Linked DNA regions of Homo sapiens: regions 1, 2, 3 and 5 are each linked to region 4. Evidence: promoter capture Hi-C in 16 types of primary human blood cells and fetal thymus (Javierre and others, 2016). All regions are on one chromosome and are shown on one strand. Each heading gives the region's core, a stretch centred on a gene start or on the middle of the fragment in contact. The rest is flanking DNA. Distances are from core to core; before and after follow the strand shown.

The links. The method cuts DNA at HindIII sites, captures the fragments that hold promoters and counts their contacts. A CHiCAGO score of 5 or more calls a contact.
Region 1: the fragment with the promoter of STPG2 here is called in contact with the fragment with the promoter of PDLIM5 in region 4 in 5 of 17 cell types (fetal thymus, non-activated CD4 T cells, activated CD4 T cells and 2 more); the score reaches 9.7 in fetal thymus.
Region 2: a fragment that was not itself captured here is called in contact with the fragment with the promoter of PDLIM5 in region 4 in 3 of 17 cell types (naive CD8 T cells, non-activated CD4 T cells and activated CD4 T cells); the score reaches 8.7 in naive CD8 T cells.
Region 3: a contact is called between the fragment with the promoter of ADH5 here and the fragment with the promoter of PDLIM5 in region 4, in 3 of 17 cell types (non-activated CD4 T cells, M0 macrophages and activated CD4 T cells). The highest score is 10.3, in non-activated CD4 T cells.
Region 5: a contact is called between a fragment that was not itself captured here and the fragment with the promoter of PDLIM5 in region 4, in 1 of 17 cell types (non-activated CD4 T cells). The highest score is 6.5, in non-activated CD4 T cells.

The regions. Positions count from the first base shown.
Region 1 is chr4:98,142,213-98,144,912 of GRCh38, reverse strand. It overlaps STPG2 (sperm tail PG-rich repeat containing 2), which reads left to right and starts at 1,437. Exons shown (of 11, transcript NM_174952.3): 1 at 1,437-1,871. The coding sequence starts at 1,763. RefSeq lists an enhancer at 1,611-1,710. The HindIII fragment of the contact is 14,460 bases long and covers 1-2,700 here.
Region 2 is chr4:98,261,845-98,264,544 of GRCh38, reverse strand. The region is part of intron 1 of RAP1GDS1 (Rap1 GTPase-GDP dissociation stimulator 1); the gene reads right to left. Among named protein-coding and RNA genes, the nearest start is that of RAP1GDS1, 1.8 kb to the right of the region's middle. The HindIII fragment of the contact is 859 bases long and covers 990-1,848 here.
Region 3 is chr4:99,087,534-99,090,233 of GRCh38, reverse strand. It overlaps ADH5 (alcohol dehydrogenase 5 (class III), chi polypeptide), which reads left to right and starts at 1,446. Exons shown (of 9, transcript NM_000671.4): 1 at 1,446-1,545. The coding sequence starts at 1,534. It overlaps LOC100507053 (a long non-coding RNA gene), which reads right to left and starts at 1,377. Exons shown (of 10, transcript NR_037884.1): 1 at 950-1,377. RefSeq lists a silencer at 1,414-1,463 and a promoter at 248-1,501. The HindIII fragment of the contact is 7,789 bases long and covers 1-1,718 here.
Region 4 is chr4:94,450,517-94,453,216 of GRCh38, reverse strand. PDLIM5 (PDZ and LIM domain 5) reads right to left here and starts at 1,275. Exons shown (of 13, transcript NM_006457.5): 1 at 1,222-1,275. RefSeq lists silencers at 776-1,035, 1,206-1,625. The HindIII fragment of the contact is 3,776 bases long and covers 126-2,700 here.
Region 5 is chr4:98,664,016-98,666,715 of GRCh38, reverse strand. It overlaps TSPAN5-DT (TSPAN5 divergent transcript), which reads right to left. Exons shown (of 3, transcript NR_148380.1): 3 at 2,165-2,700. The region is part of intron 1 of LOC112267901 (a long non-coding RNA gene); the gene reads right to left. Among named protein-coding and RNA genes, the nearest start is that of TSPAN5-DT, 6.5 kb to the right of the region's middle. The HindIII fragment of the contact is 1,484 bases long and covers 512-1,995 here.

The DNA of each region.
Region 1 (2,700 bases), core at 188-2,687, 3.7 Mb before region 4:
TCATAGTAAATATCTAGATCTTCTGAATGGGTATAGGTGGCAGCTTGGAAAATAAGGTTAAAACAACATTGAGAGAATTATGAGGGTTTCTGACAGAATGCAGGGAGAATCGAAGTTGGTGAGATGTTTCCAAAATATTGCAATATTCATTTTCCTACCATTAAAAAAAATCTTTGCCACCTCTCGTTTTGGATTATACGTCTCTTTCCCCATTAGAGAGAGAACACCTGAGGGCAGGGACTTTCTTATGCCTTTGTATCCTCATAACTTAGCAGGGATGGAACCTACAGTATATGCCAATTCGTGTTTTTTAAGTGCATAAATAATTTAGCTAGCTATTGAACAGAAAAAAAGGTACTACAGATACATCCTTGAGAAGCATATAGCCTCGCAAGGAGAGGGTTCCGACCTATATGGCACAATGAAGCCACAGTAAATGTTGCACAGGATTGAGTGGCAAATCGTGTATTACAGAGTATGAAAACTATAAAAACTTGTAGTAGGAACAAATTAACGTACTGTAGACCATTTGGAGGTGAGGTATGATCAAGGTAGGATTTGTCTAAGCCTCTGAGGATATTTATAATCTGGACAGAATTCTTGCTAGAAAAAACAGCCTGCGAGATGCAGAGGTGGATTCTGACATAGATTCCTTAAGCCCCAAGGACAAGCAAGGTTTCTTTTGCCCAAGGTTCAGAATCATTGGTTTGGTGGGGTGGACTGGGCTTTTTCAGTGCCTTCGCTTTGCTTTTTAAATATTGATGAATCAGTATTGTGGTTACCTGGCATACGACAAAAGAGGCAGCTTTCAGTCACTTCCACGGCTTCAGTTGGTGAGCTTTTCGCCTCCTTGCCTGGTGTCCTCATTTCTTTTTTTTTTTTTTTCTTTTTTACCCTTATCTTATTTGTTATTTTTTTTTCTGGGTTCTCCATTTCTTGTCACTGCCCTGAGCCCTGGGTTTGTCTTAGCAGTTTGGACTATCTACAGGTTAAGATCAGAGGTGCCTTTTCTCTGTGAGTACGAGTGGGGCTGCAGTAGAAGCGGGGGAGAGCTTGCGGAACCCCAAGCTCTCTGCTTCATGCTACTGCATTTTTCTTTACTAGGTTCTGTTGAGTCGGGAAGCAGATCAAGGTCAAGTTAGTCCTCACCCTTCCTAACGCGTTTTCTAAGGTTCTTCTGCATACTTAAAAAAGTTCGGGACCTAAGTAGTTACCGGGACCCCAAGAGCTACGAGGTTTAGGCCTGCCTTCTTCAAGGCGCGCCGGGTTCCGGGTAAAAAGAGCCGGGAAAGGGTGGCTGCTCGGTGCGCATGCTCCGAGGGCTCGGCCCAGGAAGGCACCTCCACTTCGCTCCCTAGAGACTGGGCCCGCCTCCTCCCCAGAGACTGGGCCCGCCTCCTCCCCAGGCTTCCGGGCGGAGAGAAGTGGGCGGAGTCAGGGCCGGAAGCACCGGGGCGAGCGTCTAATCCCTAATACCCAATTTTGGTGGCGTGCACCTGGCAAACTGATGATTGTGTGGGACGTCTAATCTCTAGTCGCTCACCCCTCTACTTTACCACAGAGCTAGAAATCGATTTGAGGAAATCTGGTATCAATGAGCGGGCGGGGAGACAACCCCACCCCTAATTTCCCTGTTTACGGAAGTTCTTTCCCGGCCTCCTCAGACTGGTGTCGGCTTCCTTTTTCTCCACACTTCTAGCTACCTTGTTTTTATCGTTTTCGGCACCTGCCCTTCCCCAGCGCCCCCACCACCCCGAGCACTATGTATGATCGGGCTCCCCGCCTGCTCAAATTGGCTGAAGGTGGCAGCACTGAGGCCCATGTGGGTCCTGGATCCTACCAGGTACCTTTCCTGAAGCAGCAGGCGACAGGTAAGATGTAGGAAGAGGCAGAGCTCCTGTGACAGGCATCCTATCTTCAGCCTGCTCCGCTTCTGCGTGCTTGTGAGTTAAACATAGAGCGGAATAGTACCATTTTGTAAACATAACAAAACATGAAGTAGGCAGGGAAAACACTATACTTTTATTTTACAGATGAGACTGATAGTATCACTTGTCCCATTTCAAAAGGCTGGTGAGCATATGGCTAGGACTTTTGATTCCGCAATAGTTGTCTACATCCTACTTTTGATTGTGCAGTTTAGGTCTAGGATTTTGATTTCCTGGCTGTGTTGACATAATATATGAGTCTCCAAATCCTGTGCCCTTACCTCCCGCTGTCTCGTTGCTTTGTAATCCTGCCTGCCTCACATCTTTCCTCCCATTAACCAGAGACATTTATTTATTAAGATGTAGCTTATATTTCTATTTTGCAGTATTATTTAAAGATAGTTCCGTTTTTTTTTCAGACAGATTTTTCTGACCGTCCTCATCTCTTTTAACACACTTCAGGGGAGCCCCTTTTCTCCACATTCTGTAAAGAAAAATTATATTTTTGACCAGTGGAGTGGGGATGGATAATTTAAATAATATTTGCTCTCCTCGTTTGTTTGCAGTTAGTGACTTAGTCAAAAATAAATACATCAATTTTGCTTTCTACTTTTTCTATTCTGGTGATTTTCTGGAGCTTAATACCGTCCAAATGATAGTTTTTCTTAACCTACATTTTCCCCATACCTACACTATGTATTTTCAAGCAAATGCCAGGATCCATTATTCTGTTACATAACTGATCAGATAAGGGAAGGTTTAGGTTTCTTGG
Region 2 (2,700 bases), core at 170-2,669, 3.8 Mb before region 4:
ATATCCAACAAACACTAAATGTATGTTGAATCTGAAATATGACATATACATAAAATAGTAGCTATGGCCATAAAGTTATATAGGACTTTTCTTTCACTCTCTTGTGTAGGAAATTATTGCCATGAGAATATATATATATATTTTTTTTGAGACAGAGTTTCCCTCTTGTTGCCCAGGCTGGAGTGCAATGGCATGATCTCGGCTCACTGCAAACTCCGCCTCCCGGGTTCAAGTGATTCTCCTGCCTCAGCCTCCCAAACAGCTGGGATTACAGGCGCCCGCCACCACACCCGGCTAATTGTTTTTTTGTATTTTTAGTAGAGACAGGGTTTTACCATGTTAGTCAGGCTGGTCTCCAACTCCTGACCTCAGGTGATCCGCCCGCCTCGGCCTCCCAAAGTGCGCGCCCGGCTGAGACTATCTTTAAAAATCAACCTTATTTATTTCTTGAGACAAATTAAAAAGCACTTCTCCCTCCCCTCATCATTAACCAGTATACCTTCTACCTTCTTATGTGTACATGAATTGTTATACTAACTTCCTTGGCCCAGATATAAAACTGTTCCCCAAGGTTTCAATTTTAAATTATCATATGTACCTACTGATCATACATGAAACTGCCTTACCATTGAAGAGAGTTTAGAAGGAAACAGATTGCCTGAGGTTGACTCAAAACCAACCTACAGTGTACTGGGAGGCATGGTACAATTATACCTTTCTGTTTCTGCTTATCCCCCAACTAGATAATATGTACCAACCCAAATGTTTGTTCAGATGAAGACTATATCTTCAGGTTCAAAAGTTGAAAATAATAGGTGGCTTTAAGTTCAACAATTTGCCAAAGATTTACTGAATTTCTATTTGAAAAGCACTGTGGGGAACACAAAAAATAATAAGACACTTTTCATCTTCTGGGACTCATGATTAAATGCACAGCACACACATAAACAACTTTATTATATGGTAGATTACGTAAGTGCTAAAAAGCTTCTAACAAGGTACAAACAGTGCTTATGAAGAGACAGATTAACCAAAGAGTATCAGAGATGGCTTCAAAATGAGAGATAGGTTTCTATTTGGCCCTTTTTAAAAATCAAGCAATAGCACTCAAGATTTTGAAGATTATTTTTAAGTAGATAATTTCTTTTAGGTATTTTTATTCACCAGTGTTGTAACGGAATTGGATTTTTTCCACTGAAAAAGTACGGATTTAACATGTAAGCTAAAATGTTAAATGGATTGTTTAAGGCTCACCTGGAAACATGGGAAAATATATTTTGCAAGCCAAACTTGAACTTACAGTCCAATATCAGATAGGGTTATTGGACATACTGTATATTTCCTTTGAACATACACACACTTATCTGTGTATGTATGTTCAAAGGAATTTTATTTCAAAGTGTATTTTATCTGTGTATGTTCAAAGGGAACACACATAAACGTGTGTATGTTCGACGGAAATATACAGCTTGTCCAATAATCTGATATAATACCTATTTAAAAATCTACTTTAAGAGAAAGGCAGACACGCATAAATGGGCCACCCAATTTTTACAGAAATTTGTTCAGCATATCGAGTACTCACGTTAAAAAGAAAAAACAACTGAAAATAAAATTCAGAGCCCTAGACCTTTTTTGATTCATACCACCTCCTCCGTCAACCCTGGCCTCTTCCAGATATATGGCCAAAGGTCGGGATCAAAGCCTGAAGCATTTGCTGTTCCAGAAAACTCTATGGACACCATTCCCAGGTTTAGATACTTCTTGAAGATTCTGAGTTGCACCACCTAACTCTGAACGTGTTGAGCACTGTATTAACAGATGAAAGGACCACATTCATCTCAAGCTTTAAATAACTCGCACAGAAGGGGTGGGAAAAGTCCCAGCTGACAGATGCCAAGGGAGCAAATTTTAAAAAGAGGAAATTATGACAGACAGGAGTGGAAGCAAACTGGGGAACTTAGTACAAGTCGCTACTATTAAAAGAAACTTTGAGCTCTTAATTACATGACAGCATTCATCAGACGTTTCTGTGATTACTGAATGTAACAGTTAAGCAATAGATGATGTAAAAAAATTAGGTCAAATGTATATATCGTTTTATAAAACATATTTGCTCTTAAATCTCTCATCCAAACCAATCTCTTCAGATTAACTATAAATACAAAGGAACTAAAATCAGATTATGCAGATTAGACAGGAGGAAGCTGGGAAAGAATAACTACCATGTAAGTTCGGTAACAACGTTACAGGGCGCAGTTTCCTGCTACAGAAGACGGACGAAGGAATCCAGAAAATAGGCTGGGCACGGGAATATTGCACACTGTAGTCACCCAGCACTAATTCAACAGCTAGCGGCTCTATCCTGCCTCACGTTCCTCGTGGCCTCTGACAAGTCATCCTTTCAACCTATGAGGCTGTCCGCTCTCCCCCTTGGAAAATAATTTCCGTGCAGGTTGTAAGATCTCCCTCACAAACTACTTGCTTCCACTTCCCCGCCCGGGATGAGGAGTCTCCACGACGGGGAAAGGTCGCACTGACAGAGAAGGAAGTTACACGAAGTGGTAGTGGTCGGACCCGAGCCTCGAGCTCAGTACACGCGGGGGAAAAGGAAGCGGGCGGCCTCTGGAGAAACGGGGATGGAGCTGCAGATGCGAGCCCGCGAGGCAGGCTCCGTGGTGCCCGGGCACCGGCAGGAAG
Region 3 (2,700 bases), core at 197-2,696, 4.6 Mb before region 4:
AGACCAGAGAGATATTTAGGGCTTGGTGACAAACTGAATGCAGGGACCGAGGGAGAGGGAGAAGTTGTGACTCTCATGTTTCTGGCTAGGGTAAGTATGTGGAGAGTGTCAACACACAGAGGAAAGAGTCCCTATAAGGAGAAAATATTAATAGGAGTTTTAGGAGTTGCATTCGATTGTGAGATATCCTAATGGAGACAGAAATCCAGTAGGCAGTTACATGTCCAAGTCTGGAGTTTAGGGGAGCCATCCTGATTGGAGATAATAATCTGGTAGTCATCTTTCCATAAATAGACGTTAAAAGCCAAAGTGTGAGTGAGAGAGTGGAGTGAAAGGACGGAAAGACTTTGGACAATCTTACCATATGTACCCGGAAAAGAGCCAAGAAAAAGACTGAAAGACAGAAAAGAGCAGTGTGTCTGACAGAGCTATTTTAACAAAATTCAGCGTTTACAACAGAGTTTAAGAGTAAACTGGCAGGCCAGGTGCGGTGGCTCATGCCCGTAATCCCAGCACTTTGGGAGGCTGAGGTGGGTGAATCACTTGAGGTTAGGAGTTCAAGACCAGACTGGCATACATGGTGAGACCAACCCCCTGCCCCCACTCCCAATCTCTACTAAAAATACAAAATTGAGCCAGCGTGGTGGCGTGTGCCTGTGATCCCAACTACTCAGGAGGCTGAGGCACGAGAATCACTTGAACCTAGGAGGCGGAGGTTGCAGTGACCCGAGATCGCGCCACTGCACTCCAGCCTGGGCGACAGTGCGAGACTCCGTCTCAAACAAACAAAGAAAGAGTAAACCGACAAATACTACATTCTCTCTCTCTACACTCTGGCCCACTCTTAACACAAAAAACTGTCCAGGATCAGGAGACTTTTTGTTCTCCTCATCTCCTCCTTCCAAAGTTCTCTGCCCACGTTCTACTGTCTCCCCAAAATCCTACCTACCCTTCAGGAACTGCTGGAATGGGAGCTTGGGAAGTTTCAGCAAACTCCTCTCTCCTCCTTTGTGGCCCCTTTATTCCCAAAGCTGTGTCCTCTCCCTATGACGAGTCCCTTGAGGGGCTGTATCTTACTCCTTGTGTCTCCAAGCACACATAATGTGTATTAGGGGAGGAAGCATTCGCCAGTGGAGCACAAAGCTGTTGCAGGTCTCTTACTGGTTCTCAGGCGCTTTCAGTGAAATTCCCGTTCCCTCACCGTCCACATCTGTAATTTGCAAGTCTTATCTACGATAACTGCTGTAAAGTTACACGGGGAAGCCCTTTCCCGACAAAAAAAACGAGTTCTGCAACAAGTCCGTCGGATTTTAGCAATGAAACCGGCGCCGTGCAGCCTCGCCGGCGAGTGCACCCTGGAACGCACAACTTAGCGGCACGCACCACAGCTCGAGCACCGCCCTTCCGGTTGGAGCCATTGCAAGCCCCCCCCACGCCCCGCCCCCCTCGCTAGGCGCTCGCCACGCCCATGCCTCCGTCGCTGCGCGGCCCACCCCGGATGTCAGCCCCCCGCGCCGACCAGAATCCGTGAACATGGCGAACGAGGTAGGGCCCGTTGAGCGGAGGGCCCTGAGTCCAAGGGAGGGAGTGCATGGCATGGGACTAGGCTGCTATCCTCGGGGGCGCGCGAGGCTCGGCGCCCAAGACGGGATCTGGCTCTTGGTTCTGAAACTGGGCCCCCAGCGAGCGGCTCAGAGGGGCAGAAAGAGAAGGAAGCTTTGTCTCGGCTCTTCAGTTGGGAAGCAGCTTTCTTTGCTGCTTCTGGGACAGTCGGAACGGGGTGGGGGGGTGGGAGAGCCGGAGAGTGGGGGGCAGGGGCTGGTCAGGTCGGTATCCCAGTGGAAATGGCTTAGGAGCGGCCACGCATTGCTTCTTACACGAAATTAAGTAACTCGCTCTGGGTCATTCTTGCAGCTTGCATACTTGGCAGAGCTGCAGCCAGATCCCGTGCTTCTAACTCCTAGGTTGCTTGTGTTGCATAATTGAGCCTACGCCTTAATTATTGTGCCTCCAAGGAGTGTATTTTGGAAAGACCCCTACGTCCCTTTCAGAAACATTTTCGAGCACTTAAATACCAAGAGATTTATATTCCCTCTAGTCCTCACGTAACAAACACCTCTGCGAGGTGTTATCCCCATCTTACCAAAAACTGAGGTTTGAGGTTGGTTGTGCTTGGTCACACCAACGATGGCGAGCTGGGATTCCGACCCAGGTCTGCTCCTCTATGACAAATTCATAAAATACAAATTAGACAGTAAAGAAAGGCAGAAATTACGAATAACATACTCAGTCTAAAGTTGCTGATTATTTTAATGTTTTGCAATTTTGGACATTTTCTAGTAAGACAAATGGCCTTAAACATATTGGAGTTTGAAAGAAATAAACTCTAAACAGTCTTTCAGACTTAAACTGGTAGTTGCTTTTCCTTATTACTGAGTGTCTTTATTCAGAGAAGGTGAAAGATTATAATTGTTACTATAGTTCAAATGTTGAAGTAGGGCCATTTCCCGCGGATTTAGAGTGGGGCTTTGTTTTGCTTAGAATTGTCAGTAAAAGGAAAAGGTTAGGCTCCATTAAGACATTTTTTAAAGGGGAGCAGGCCATCAAATTTAGTATTCTTGTTTCTTTGGATTCCTATGTTGCATAACTTAATTGTTAGTATTCTGAATCTGACTTGTGGAGTTGAAATTTATGGCACAT
Region 4 (2,700 bases), core at 26-2,525:
CAGGCAGGAAATAGCAGCATACTCTTTCAAACACGTCGAAAAGGTTGGAATTTCTGTAGAGTTATGGATTTTCTTTTAGGGAAAGTCTAAACAATGTCTTTGCTCTAGTACTAGGGAAGGAAGCTTGGTATTTCCCACACTTGTATCTCAGCTTCATTAGTGGGTGAGAGGGGAGAAAGGAGAACTCAAGATGAACTACACAGAGTGACAAAAAAAAAGGCCTGAAATTAAAGAGAAATATCTTGAGATTCTCTTTCCCCGCAATGGAGAGAGAATGTAGGTAGAGCTGAAGAACTAAAGCCACAGGCACAGGATGAAAGCAGCCGACAGGACAGTTTTCCAGGAGGGATTCGCGCCTAGCCTTGTTGGCCAAATAAGGCTACCGAACGGGCCGTTTCCGTGGCAGGCGGGTTCAGACGTCCTCCCCGTCAGGAAGGCGGACTTGGGATAGGATCTGGCGATCACACCCTAAATCTGCCCTGCCCAGCGCCGCCACGAATTTTCCTTCCAAGCTCTGCCCTGTCCACACGCCCTTCCTTTTTCCACTTATTGTAAAACGCACCGAAGGCACAGTCTTACAAAAGCCCCAACAAGTACTCAAGTGTTAACAAATCTCGTGTTCATGACAAATGTGTTTCTTAAACGAGCTTTATTTCTGGACGCGCAGAAGTTTTCCCCAAACAGGTTACACAAAACTGTAAATATCTGGGGGAGAAATAAATGCTTCTCAGTAGCCTGGGAGCAAAGAAAAACTAACGCGCCTTTTCCTTTGAGTCCCGCTTCCTACCCTCCAAGAGACTGGCGCAGGACTGGGCACTCAGACACCACACCACGGTGGTGCCGGGCGACGCCGGCAGCCGGGTGGGTGGGAGCGGCAGTGCCCGTCCCTGCCGGCCCTCGCCACCTCCGGGCGCCCTCCCGCGTCCCCGTCTCCGCTACGCTGGTCCCGGTCGGCCCGGGCTGCGGGGACCCCAGGGCTCGCCCTCTGGCCTCATGCGGACTCCAGCGCTGCCCTTTTCCGGGCGCTCCTTTTCCCAAGCTGCTCTCCCACCTCCGCCGCTCCGCGCCCAGAAAGCACCTGAGGAGCCATCCCTGCCCGAGGAGCGCCCCCTCCTCGTCCCCAACCGGGCTTCCCTTCTCGCGTTCGGCGCACAGCGGCCGGTTCTTTCCCTTCTCCCACCGGAGATCCGAGAGGCGCATCGCCGGCCGGCCGCCACTCACCTCGGGTCCGGCGCGGCGCGGGGCTGCCTCCGCCTCAGACAAGGGCTGACAAGTGACTCGCGGTGAGGGCGCCGTCCCCACCGCCCGCGGGAACTTCCGCCTCCTGGCTCTCCCTCGCCCCACCCCCGACCCAGGACACGCCCCTCCGCTCCCGGCCACGCCTCTGGGCCAGTCCCAGCCGCGCCGCGCAGGGGCGGGGAAGGTGGCGGCGGCGCCGGGCGCTCGGGCTTGCTGGGGCTGGCTGAAGCAGCTGCGGAAAGACAACTGCGCTACCGAGTTTCGGTGGGAGTAGTCTTAGCGGATTTTGAGCGCTACCTGGCAAAGGTCTAACCCTCCGCTCGTCCGTTTTGTAGTGGGTGCATTTTTCTCTCCAGAAATTTAAATTGGCAAGCAGTTGCTCTGCCTAAAAATAGAAGGGTACTTTGGATAAATCTCTATCTATGCAAGTTCAGCGGTTACTGCCTGCGTTTTTTTTTTTGAAAGAGCTTTACATGCTCTGAAAAGTGCAGACCCAGAAGTTTACCTGTCAGGAAGGTGAAAACCAGTAACCCTAACAGAAGTTAACCCTGTCCATCACACCAGAAGACAGTGATACATAAAAGCGGCCAAAAGTGATTCAACCACTGTATCTTCAGTTTATTTTTCTAAATCCAAATCAATAGTCCACTTTCCAGCCTTCTATAGGGTTGCTTGATACGCCCGAGGAATTTATTCATAAGAAAACGTGAATAATGTTCACTGAACATACGGAAAGTAACTAGACTGTTACACTGTGAATTGGCTTATAAAACGTGAAAAGGACAATTCTTAACCAAGGAGCATATAAAGCAAGGATGAACTTCATGAGGTCCGTGAGCTCCCCGGCCCCCAGAAGTGCAAGCAAAATTCCAAAGGCGAAGATCCAAAGCTGCTCTTTCCCTAACGGTAGCCACTGGCCACATGTGGCTATCGAACAGTTGAAATGTGGCTACTGTAACTGAGACCATGAATTTTTTGTTTTACGTAATTTTAAATAATTTAACATTTAAAACTGAAGCAGGATAACATTTCTTTACTTTTTTTTTCTTTGAGACGGATTCTTGCTCTGTCTCCCAGGCTGGGATCAGTGGTGCAATCTCGGCTCACTGCAACCTCCACCTCCCGGGTTCAAGCGATTCCCCTGCCTCAGCCTCCTGAGTAGCTGGGATTACAGGCGTGCGCCACCACGCCCGGCTAATTTTTTGTATTTTTAGTAGAGATGGGGTTTCACCATGTTGGCCAGCCTGATCTCGAACTCCTGACCTCAGGTGACCAACCCGCCTCGGCCCCGCAAAGTGCTGGGATTACGGGCATGAGCCACCGCGCCAGGTCGTTAACATTTCTTTTAAGCACTACATTTAAGGACTAAAGTTGAAAATATAATGCCCAAATTGAAATGCGTTGGAAGTGTAAAATGCACACTGGATTTCGACGACTTGGTATGAAAAAATAATGTAAAAT
Region 5 (2,700 bases), core at 4-2,503, 4.2 Mb before region 4:
TATGACTCGTATATCACTCCTTGGGTGTTCAATACATGGCCCCTACAGCGGGAACAGCCAGGGAAGGAACTCTCCTCTGGGGGACATGTGTACTGTCTGTTTGGCCTATTATGAGCTCTCCTGTGACTTTGGCACAGATACAGGACTCAAAGGAACCATGGGGAGTTGAGGTGTGGTACCATCACCCAGAGCAAAAGCCCTTGGTGGCTGCATTGTTATCCAGGGATGAAAGATTAGCCTGTATTTTGCCTGAGGGATATGATTTACCTCTGTTAGTACCTGTACCTGCTCTGTCATTTCAACTGTAGGTTAACATGCTCTAACTGCATTTGGACTGGGCCCACACCTACGCTGAGGTGACCAAGTTTCCATCTGTTGGATCTGCACTGCCCTTCCAACAGCAGCTGCAGATGGCTTGCCTTGGCACATACATTCAGTATCTGCAGAGAACTGGACATGGCTGGAGACCTGGGGTCCCATGGCTGATGTCTGTGAGGCAACATGGCAAGCTTTGAAAAAGGATGCTGTAAGACCCACAGCACACCCGCCCCCTGGCTGGCCTGTAGTGTTTATGATGGGTGGGGCTGGCTAGCGGGGGAACATGCAGTACCCCAAGCCCAGGTACTGTGGTACATAGAGCCACATTGGGGCAACACCCCTGTGGGATGGGTACCCATCATGGCCTGTGCAAACATAATACATGTCACCACACTGAAGGTATGATGGAACGAGCGGCCTCACCAAGGTTGGGCCCCAATGGATTTTGTGTCCCCTGGGAGTTTATGGGTCTGTGGGGACACAGGGTGGCCTTAGCTACCAGTGAACTGGACTGGACATTGCACCTGGGGGTGGCCTTACCTGCCAATGTTCTCCCCAAGTTGCCCAGATAGCTCACTTAACTGGGAGGTGCTATGTTCTCGGTTTGTGCAAGTGCGACGAGTCCCCTGGTGGTTCTGCCTCTTGGCAGTGACTATCCCTGGAGTGGGTGTCATAACCGTAGAAGCACAAGTTACCACTCTTGCACAGCACACCACTTGGGCTCTGAATTACACTTGAGTGGCCCCCCTCCTGTTAACCAATGAGGTTGATCAGATTAGAAAGGTGGTATTGCAAAATCAAATAGCCTTAGACATAGAAACTGCTGCCCAAGGAGGCACCTGTGCACTTTTAGGAACACAATGTTGTACCTTTATTCCTGACAATCGGTAGAACATAACAGCAGCCCTGCAAGGGGTCTCATGGCAGATTAACGCAGTTGAGAGCCTTACTGATGATCCCCTGTGGAGATGGTGGGCATCCCTAGGCTCTGGCCTACACTGGGCCCTAATAGTCATAAGTGGCATAGCTGGGATCCTAGTAGTGAGGTGTTGCTTTCTGTATTGTTGTTGTGGGTTATGGATTCAGGGCTCTGCCCTATGGGCACATGTGCCTGCCTGGAGGATGCCCTAGGCCTAGGGGGTGGAGTGTAAGGGAAATGGCTGTGCTTTAGTCAGGAGTAGGCTGAGGCAGGCTTCCGGCACAGCATAACTCAATGGGTTTGGAGCGCAGGCGCATAGCTCCGCACATTATGTAACCAAGCCATGTGAGGCACATTAGGTGATCACCCATGTGAGCTTGTGCTGGGCTTGGAGCCACTACTGTCTGTAAAAGGTATAATTACCCTGCTAATGCTGTACATATGGCTTGCTCACACCCAAAGAGAGGGTAAAGCCATGTCAAAACTGTCTATGATTCCTTTAGTGTTTTTCCAGCTACCCACCACTCATCCACTGATTCCCGTTGGATCTCAATTAGAACCTGGCAGCTAGCTTATGGGAACTCGGACATCAGTTAGAACCTGACAGCTAGCTTATGGGACCAGAGGGAAGGCAGAAGAATCAGGAGGCTCCCAAAGGTCTCAAGGGCAGCTTCAGGCTTGTCCAGGGGCTGCAAGAAATGAACTCCAGGTGGCTTTTGGTCTCTTTCTTTGCTCTGCTCAGTATCAGGAAGTAAGCTTCTAATTGGCTGAACTTGTGTCATGTGCTTGGCCCCTGGTAAGGTAACATCAGGGCCTAATGCCTTGATCCACACAGGTCTAGCTATCTCCAAAGCAGCAGGAAGTTGAGGTGCCAGAAGAAGATGGAATGGCCGAATTAAAAAAAAAAATCAATTACTGCTCTGTCATATTGTGTGAAAGACATAATTCATTTTATTGTACAAATGATTATAATTGATTCTTAAAAGTGAAACAACTGTGCTCTACATATGCTTATTCAATCATATTTACGAGACAGATATGCCCCATTTTATGTTATTCCTGGGGATCTGAAAACTGGTCTTTAGTAGGTATGTGTGGGCACAGGGCAAGAGGGTCACAGTGGGCGGTAAATCCTGAGGAATCAGTTAATTGTTTTGTTAGAGAAATAGACCATTTAACTGCTCACTTTTCGACTAAGGAACAGAAGATACAATATTAATTCATTAACTATAACAAAAATATAGTTTAATTTTATATCATAGCTAACTAAAAAGTATTTTAAGTTGACCTCATTTCATAAAGGATTTGAGGTGAGAAGACCTTTTGTTTTAATCAGGGTTCTTTGATTTGAAAATTTGAGATACTCACTTCAAAGTATCTAAAGCCCAAATGGGATGTGATGAATGATTCCATCTAAAAATCTCATAGACCTCAAAGACAGAGTCCTCTTTAAATCTAGAAGC